Linked DNA regions of Homo sapiens: region 2 is linked to region 1. Evidence: promoter capture Hi-C in human tissues and cell types (Jung and others, 2019). All regions are on one chromosome and are shown on one strand. The core of a region is centred on a gene start or on the middle of the fragment in contact, and the rest is flanking DNA. Distances in the headings are between cores, read along the strand shown.

Region 1 (4,615 bases), core at 937-3,436:
AAAACAGTTTACCTGTAAGTAGGAAGACTACCCAGCCCCAGAGATAAGACCTTTTGGCATCATTGTCCCTTCTTACGGAGTGATAAAGTAACCTTCCTTGAAGTGTATCAATCCATCACCAGTCAAGCTGCCGCAGCCTATGCACTGGTCTTGAATGGAAAATGTGTTGATTCTGCTAAAGCTTCTCTGTCTTTCCCTGTGTGTGAAACCTTAACATCTCTACATGGGAACACGGGCCCCCTTCATTTGGAGTTGATGTTTCCAGATGGCTATCCTCAAACTTTGTGTTCCAATAAACTCTATAATTAATCGTGTATTCTGAATTTTATTATTTACTGCTGACGTCAGTTTCCGTCAGATTGTAGGAGCCTCACTAGAGAGGGCACCTGTCGCCATGTCGTAAAACTCACACTTGTCAAAAAGACGTGGGTTAATGTATTTCCCCTCCTTCTGCATGAAGCTAGTTAGCTGACACAGATGGTCACCTCCATTACCAAGTAGAGCCAGGATGAACTATGTGCGACCAAAGACTTGTCAAGTCCTCTTCCCTGAGGACTGATTAGTGTTTATCTTGAAAACATGTACTTAATGGGTTGTATAGAGCAGTGAAGTTTCTCTCTTTTCAACCTCTCAGCTCTTTGCCTGTATTTCCCAACACATTCTGGTCTAAGGCTTATTTACTAATAAAATGGTTTTTATTTCTTCCTGTTTTGTCATGAAGATGATTTCTCATTTTGGGGAAGATTTTTTAGTTTTCAATTGTATTTTTTCAACATTTAAAAAGCGAAGTAAAGAGTATTTCTTGGGCCAGGCACAGTGGCTCACGCCTGTAATCCCAGAACTTCGGGAGGCCGAGGCAGGCGGATCACTTGAAGTCAGGAGTTCGAGACCAGCCTGTCCAACATGATGAAACCCCGTCTGTACCCAAAATACAAAAATTAGCCGGGCATGGTGGGTGTGCCTGTAATGCCAGCTACTCCGGAGGCTGAGGCAGAAGAATCGCTTCAACCCAGGAGGCAGAGGCTGCAGTGAGCCGAGATGTCACCATTGTACTCCAGCCTGGGCGACAGAGAAATACTCAGTCTCAAAAAAAAAAAAAAAAAGAAGAAGAAGAAGAAAAAGAAAAAATGTAAATAAAAAGGAGAAAGTAACAGATCTCTTTTACAAATGTGCTGGGACAACTAACTGGATATCCATATGGAGAAGAGTAATGTTGTATTCCTATCTCACACAAGCAAATTTAGTTTGTTTATTTATTTTTAGAGAGGGAGTCTGGCTCTGTCGCCCAGGCTGGAGTGCAGTGGCTCGGTCTCGGCCCACTGCAAGCTCCACCTCCCATGTTCACCGCATTCTCCTGCCTCAGCCTCCTGAGTAGCTGGGACTACAGGCGCCCGCCACCACGCCCGGCTAATTTTTGTATTTTTAGTGGAGACGGGGTTTCATCGTGTAAGCCAGGATGGTCGCGATCTCCTGACCTCGTGATCCGCCCGCCTCAGCCTCCCAAAGTGCTGGGATTACAGGCGTGAGTCACCGTGCCCGGCCTAATAAAAATTTTATTTTAAAAATTTAAAAAAGAGAGAGACTGCGGGAGGGAATGTTACATTGTCGCGCAGGCTGTCCTGGACCCCCAGGCTGAGCGATCCTCCCGCCGCTGCTTCCTGAGTAGCTGGGACCTCAGGCTCCCACGCCCGCATCCCTGCTGTGTTTAAGCAGCAGGTGGTGACCTCACTCCTCCCTGGCCTGAGCACTCCGTCTGGCATCCCAGGCTGTGGCCCTAGGGATGTCTCTGAAGCTGAGCACTGGGTGGACTCTCCCTCCTGAGTGAATGGAGAATAGAAAGGGAGAAGATTTCTATACTGTCCTGTGGGCCATCAGCATGAAATCCTACGTTCCGCCCAGAAAGGGCTTTGCATTTTACATTCTAGTTTGCATCCTCCTTCCAGACTATTCCAGGGCTTTTGAATTATCCGTCTGCCTTCCTGGGGGCTCTCGCCGCCAAAACCCGGAGAACGGGTTGGGAGGAGGCTGAGAGATGCACAGGTCCCGCTCCGGCCCCGCCCTCTGCGGGTTCTAAAGGGCAAGGTCTCGCCGCTTCGCGCCCCGCCCACACCTCACCCGGGCCCCGCTCGCCTCCTCGTTGGCTCCACCCAGGCCTGGTTTCTGTCCTGCGCGCGCAGATTCGCGCAGACCAGGAAGTGGATCCCGTGGAATGACGGTCACGCCGCGGCGGGCGGTGAGTTTTGCTCTGTGTGGTGTTAAGTCTGAGCTTCCCAGGTCCCCGGCACTTCTGTACATGGGATGTGGGGTCCCCATAGACCTGGAAGTTCTCGCCTTTCTTCCTTCACTCAGAGCAAATGGAGATGTTCTACTGGGAGTCCGGAAGCCCCTTCTTTTTAGGTTTAAAGTCGCCCTGAGGCTGGTCCCGTCCCGGGTCTTTCTGCCATAGGGCAATGTATACGTTTCCTATCGCGTAGTTTTCCTGCTCAAAACCGTTTTTTGACTCCTTCCGCACGGCTCTTTTTAAAGTCCTCACCCTAGAGGTGTATTCCCACCCTGTGCGCCTCCCAGCCTTACTCTCCTGGGTTCCTGGAGCACAGCGCGGCGACCCCAGTCCCGGGAAGGCTGCGTTCTGTGGTCCTGGGATCCTGCGGATCCCACCCTTGTCCGAAGGCGTCGTCGCTCCCCACCTCCCTCCTCCTCTTGCTGGGCCCTGCTGCTCCCCAGATCTCCCCTCCGCAGTCACCGCGTCCCCTGAGCCCTCGTTGGAGAGGTGCCTGGGGCTTGTCCTGTGACGCGGGGTGTTCTTGCCCGCCCAGCTCCAGCACTTGGAAAATGCGCTTCTCCGAGATGCAGGCGTCTTACTCCAAACCCTCTTGTGATCGTGTGGGCCAAAGGGATCAGGAGACAGAGAGAGGGACTGAGAGAGCAGTAGAAAACCTGAGACAGAGAAAAGAAGAATGAGAAAGACCCATAACAGATGGCAAAGTAGAGGATGGGTGAGGGATTTGCCAAGAGACAGCAAAAGTGATAAAAGATAAGAAAGCAGGAGGAGAAAAGCAACTGGAGAAATGTAGAGAAAAGCTAGATGTACAGAGAGATGAAGGACAGCAAGGTAGGGAGAGGGGCAGAAATGTGGAGGCTCATCAGAGTGAGGGAGAGGAGGAGGGATGTGGAGCCGGGTCAGACAGAGCAGAGTGGTGCTGGTGGCAAGGAGAACAGAGGGAGAAGCACAGCGGGGAGGACACCTGGGGATCTGGGGTGCCAGATTGGGTCCAGGGGGTTATAACAGAGAAGAGAGAATTTAACAGGGAGAGCAGAGGAGGCGCATAGATGGGAGAAGAGGCAGAAATCTATGGAGATTGAGGACGATCTAAAGATTGGGGAGAAGGACCAACAGGAGGTTAAATAAGTTGCAAGGATGGAGCCCAGCTAATTTTTGTATTTCTAGTAGAGATAGGGTTTCACCATGTTGGCCAGGTTGGTCTCAAACTCCTGACCTCAGGTAATCCACCCACCTCCACCTCCCAAAGTGCTGGAATTACAGGTGTGAACCACCTCAGCTGTCCACCCATGTATTTCTTGATTGAAATAATTTGCTTATGTCTTGGTTCTACAGCTGACCCTGTTTCCCTGTTTTCAAGGTCAAGAGCTGTGTGTTTACACTGCTGCATTTTATAAATGTTAGTGTGATTTTCTTGTAAGGAAGAATTCAATGTTGGGAGTCAATTTCATCAGAACCTTTCAAAAGAATTTTCTTTAACCCAGGCATGTGAAAAATGCTTCTCTAATTTTAAGAATGGGATGATAAGACCAACCCATCCCATTAGCCCTTCCAGGCCCCCATGTAAGAATTCAGGCACACCTTCTCACTCATCTCAGACCTTCTCAGGGTAACTTCGTGAAAATGTTTCCAGCTCTGAGCCCCAGTGAACCTCCCTGCATCTTTGCGACGAAGGGCTAGACCAGAAAAGCTCAACCTGAGTGATCCTGACCCCTGAAATGATTGGCAAAATAGAGGCGGTGTCTGGGTGTGGCTTTTTTTCTGGTAGAGGAGAGTGCCCAGTTGTAATTAGAATTTTCAGTGGGATGCAGTACCCCAAAAATGAAAAAAAAAAAAGCAGAAGAATGGAAGAAACAGAGCGGTAGACTCAGAAACAGAGAGGATCTTTGGAGGCCTTTGTCTGTATTAGAATATCACAGCTACATCTAAAGCAGGTCATGTCAGTGCCTGGCAGGGAACCCTCCACCTGCTTCCCGTGTTCCCCAGGACAAAAGCCCGACTCTTCACTTTGGCTCCACAGCCCTGTGTTCAGGGTCCCTGCCAGTGTCCAGCCTCCTCCTGGGAGCTTACCCTCATCTGACTCCCTCTGCCCCAGTCACATTTGCTTTTCTCTTTTTTCAAACATCAAAATCCTTCCTGTCTCAGGTTGTTGTCCCTGCTCTTATTCAATGTTTCTAAATGAAGATGGCACTGTCCCTTTCTCCTTCAGGTCTAGGCTCAGAGCTGTCTCCCATGCCCTCCCACCCCCATCTGAAGTTCCCTCTACCCATCAGTGTCTATGGCATTACTCAAGTCTTCTTATCTCTGTGTCAATCCCATCAGAAATGCACTTTT
Region 2 (4,615 bases), core at 1-2,500, 550 kb before region 1:
AACCCAATGTGATTTAGATTCAACACGGTACCCATAAAAATCCTTATCACTGGGGCTGGGCGCAGTGGCTCACGCCTGTAATCCCAGCACTTTGGGAGGCCGAGGTGGGTGGATCATCTGAGGCTGGGAGTTCAAGACCAGCCTAACCAACATGGAGAAACCCCATCTCTACTAAAAATACAAAATTAGCTGGGCGTGGTGGCTCATGCCTGTAATCCTAGCTACTCTGGAGGCTGAGGCAGGAGAATTGCTTGAACCTGGGAGGCGGAGGTTGTAGTGAGCTGGGATCGCTCCATTGCAGTCCAGCCTGGGCAACAAGAGTGAAACTCCATCTCAAAAAAAAAAAAAAAAATCCCTATCAGTTTTTGTTAAAGAAACAAAAAACAGGCTGGGAAAATGGCTCACGTCTGTTGGCCAGGCTGACCTCAAACTCCTGAACTCAAGTGATCTACCGGTGCTGGCCTCCCAAAGCGCTCAGATTACAGGTGTGAGCCACTGTGCCTGGCCCAGTCCTCTTAACATAAACACTTTAATGTCAATTAAGGCTTCAACTCAATGTTAAGTCAAACTCAAGTCAATGCTGAACTGACTCTAGTGTCAATTAATGCTTGATGGTTTGCTATACACATTGTATTTGGAACAACTATCTCCAAAATGAATTTTCTGATATCCTGCAAGGAGTGAGCTCAGACTGAAGACTTTGGCACACTGATGACATTTATAAGATTTCTGTCCAGTATGCATTCTCTGATGTCTAGTGAGGTGTGAATGTGAATTAAAGGCTTTGCCGCAATCATCACACTTGTGAGGTTTCTCTCCTGTATGAATTCTCCTATGTTTTGCATAGAATGAAGCTTGACTGAGACCTTGTCACAATCATGACATTTGTAAGGTTTCTCTCCAGTACGAGTTCGCCGATGAACTGCAAGTTATGAACAATGTCTGAAAAATTTGCCAAATTTATTAAACTAGTATGATCTCTCTTCATTATGGATTCTCCAATGATTCGCAATGGTTGTAGTGTAACTGAAGACTTTGTGACAATCATTACATAAGTAAAGTTTCCCTACACCATGGATTGCCTGATGGTAAACAAGTGTTGACTGCCCACTAAAGACCTGTCACATTCATTATACTTGTAAGCTTTCTCTCCAATGTGAATTCTAGGATGTTGTGCCAGGTGCGAATTATGCCTGAAAGCCTTGTCACAAACTCTTACATTTTTATGCTATCTCTCCAGTAGGAATTCTCCTGTGTCTTTCAAGGTTTGAGTGTGACTGAAAACTTGGTGACATTCTTCACATATGTAAGCTTTCTCTCCAGTATGAATTCTCCTGTCTTTGGAGGCTTGATTTGCGACTGTAAACTTTGTCACATGCTTCACATTTGTAACGTTTATCTCCAGTATGAATTCTATGATGATGTGCAAGCTTTGCTTTTTGATTTAAAACCTTGCCACGTTCATTACACTGCTAAGGTTTCTCTCTAGTATGAATTCTATGACTATCAAGGTTTGATTTGAATCTGAAAGCTTCATCACATTCTTCACATTTGTAAGGTTTCTAATACGACTTCACCCATGAACTGCAAAGGTATGAAGGATGTCTGAAAAATTTTCTGCATTTATTCTGCATTTATCACACTTGTAGGATCTCTCTTCATTATGGATTCTCCAATGATTTGCAATAGTTGTAGCATTACTCAAGACTTGGTGACAATCATTACATTTGTAAAATGCTGACTGCCCATGAAAGGTTTTTCTACACTCATTATCCTTGTAAGGTACCTCTCCAGTATGAAGTCTACGATGGTGCGTAAGGTATGACTTCAGACTAAAGGTCTTGCCACACTCACTACACTTTTAAGGTATCTCTCCAGTATGAAGTCTATGATGGCATGTAAGGTATGAGTTCTGACTAAAGGTCTTGCCACACTCATTACATTTGTAAGGTATCCTCCAGTATGAAGTCTACGATGGCGTGTAAGGTATGAGTTCTGACTAAAGGTCTTGCCACACTCATTACACTTGTATGGTTTCTCTCCAGTATGAATTCTCCTTTGTCTTTCAAGGTTTGATTTGAAATGGAAAACTCAAATTCTTCACATTTGTAAGGTTTCTCTCCAGTACGAAGTCTACAATGGCATGTAAGGGATGAGGTCTGGCTGAAGGTCTTGCCACACTCATTACACCTGTAAGGTTTCTCACCAGTGTGAATTCTCCTATGTCTTTCAAGGTTGGATTTGAAACAGAAAGCTTCTTCACATTCTTCACATTTGTAAGGTCTCTCCACTATGAAGTTTATGATGGTACACAAAAGATGACGTATGACTCAAGGTCTTGCCACACTCATTACACTTGTAAGATTCTCTTCAGTACGAATTTTCTGATGTATTTCAAGGTTTGATTTGAAATTGTAAGCTTTGTCAAGTTCTTCATATTTGTAAGGTTTCTCTCCACTATGAAGCCTACGATGGCATGTAAGGGTTAACTCCTGATTGAAGGTCTTACCACACTCATTACACGTGTAGTTTCTCTCCAGTATAAATTCTCCTATGTCTTTCAAGGTTTGATTTGAAACTGAAAGCTTCATCACAATCTTCACATTTGTAAGGTTTCTGTCCAGTATGAAGTCTATGATGGTATGTAAGGGATGACGTCCGGCTGAAGGTCTTGCCACACTCATTACACTTGTAAGGATTCTCTTCAGTATGAATTTTCTGATGTATTTCAAGGTTTGATTTGAAACTGTAGGCTTTGTCACATTCTTCACATTTGTAAGGTTTCTCTCCACTATGAAGTCTACAAATGTTAAGGGTTAACTGCTGATTGAAGGTCTTGCCACACTCATTACACTTGTAAGGTTTCTCTTCAGTATGAAGTCTACGATGGTATGTAAGAGATGACTTGTGACTAAAGGTCTTGCTACACTCATTACACTTGTAAGGTTTCTCTCCAGTATGAACTCTATGATGGCATGTAAAATGTGACTTCCGACTAAAGGTCTTGCCACACTCATTACACTTGTAAGGTTTCTCTCCAGTATGAAGCCTACGATGGCATGTAAGGTACGACTTCTGACTAAAGGTCTTGCCACACTCATTACACTTGTACGGTTTCTCTCCAGTATGAATTCTCCTATGTATTTGAAGCTTTGATTTGAAATGGAAAGCTTTGTCACATTCTTCACATTTGTAAGGTTTCTCTCCAGTATGAAGTCTACGATGGCATGTTAGGTAATATGTCTGACTGAAGGTCTTGCCACACTCATTACACTTGTAAGGTTTCTCACCAGTGTGACATCTACGATGGCGTGCAACGTATCGCTTCGAATTAAAGACCTTGCCACATATATCGCATTTATATTGTTTCTCTCCTAAATGGATTAACTGATGTTTCCTTAAGAGTGAGCTACAATTATAGGCTTTGCCACTGTCATTGCATTGGAAAGATTTTTCCCTCATATGTACTTCCTGTTTTTGTGTGAATAATGAAGAATTCAGGAAATTATTCCCATAGTCATTAGAAATATGGGTTTCAGGCCTACAAGAAATTCTTTGGGCTGTTGAAACCAAGGAAGCATCGTGGATAGACTTCACAACTTGATTATCAATTTTCTCTTCAGTGTGAAATATGTGCAGTTCAGGCAGATGCGAATGAAAGCTGAATCCAAGCTGATATTTAACAGGCTTGTTTCCAGCATAATTTTGATCATATCGCTCTGTACTACCTGTCAACTTTTTGATTTTTGTCATGAGTGCTTCATGGCCATTTCTTTCATCTTCTTGCCACTGAAACTCAATGTCATGAATATCTTTATCAATATCCTGGAAACAAAAATCTCCATTGTGATGACTTTCATGTCTTTGAGATGTCCCTGCATGGAACACTTCTCTATTGCCTTGTGCTGTTGACGAGAACTCCTTCATCATGCATTTGGAAGAGATATCTAAAAAGTATACACACCAAAAGGTTTCAAATTAAGTACAGATGGTAAATAATGCTGAAATGTGTAAATATGACACAAAAAACAATACTTATTTTAAACTTTGCAAACATGACCCTCAAAGTTTAGGAACAGAAAAGCATAAGATTCTTTAACAAATAAAGGGCGATTACATGTGCTTCAAATTATTTTTACGGAAGTCTATTTCCAATATCGTGACAAAACACTGACAGGGCACAAAAACGTGTAGCCTAAAGTAAGGAATATTTTTCCATCGTGACCCTAAAGTGTCTAACAGTTTGTAAAAAACATATCACTGTCACATCAATGAAAAGTATATATTCTTCACATTTACAGCATATTTACTGTATACAAATAGATGCTAAAGGACCACATGATGTACTGTGTTGGAAAATAATCCACAACAAGATTATGTAAGGATAACCAAAATCAATGGAAATTCTGTATTGTCAAACAATCATAGCACTGAGAAGATAAGAAAAGATTACAAAATGTAATTTTTAATCTTTTTTAGTCCCAAATTTTTAGTCCCACGTACTCATGGGACTCACGAGGCACAAGAATCGTTTGAACCCAAGAGGCAAAGGTTGCAGTGAGCTGAGATTGCACCACTGTACTTCAGCCTGGGTGACAAAGTGAGATTCCATCTT

The links. The method cuts DNA at HindIII sites, captures the fragments that hold promoters and counts their contacts. A contact is called where the count stands out against the background at its distance.
Region 2: a fragment that was not itself captured here is called in contact with the fragment with the promoter of ZNF468 in region 1 in 2 of the 25 tissues and cell types used here (adrenal gland and aorta).

The regions. Positions count from the first base shown.
Region 1 is chr19:52,855,190-52,859,804 of GRCh38, reverse strand. ZNF468 (zinc finger protein 468) reads left to right here and starts at 2,186. Exons shown (of 4, transcript NM_001008801.2): 1 at 2,186-2,233. It also overlaps a transcript of ZNF320 not described here. RefSeq lists an enhancer at 2,508-2,587. The HindIII fragment of the contact is 14,237 bases long and covers 1-4,615 here.
Region 2 is chr19:53,407,030-53,411,644 of GRCh38, reverse strand. The region is part of intron 3 of ZNF765-ZNF761 (ZNF765-ZNF761 readthrough); the gene reads right to left. ZNF765 (zinc finger protein 765) reads right to left here. Exons shown (of 4, transcript NM_001040185.3): 4 at 1-3,947. The coding sequence ends at 2,518. It also overlaps the pseudogene LOC124904793. Among named protein-coding and RNA genes, the nearest start is that of ZNF765-ZNF761, 14 kb to the right of the region's middle. The HindIII fragment of the contact is 3,821 bases long and covers 1-3,160 here.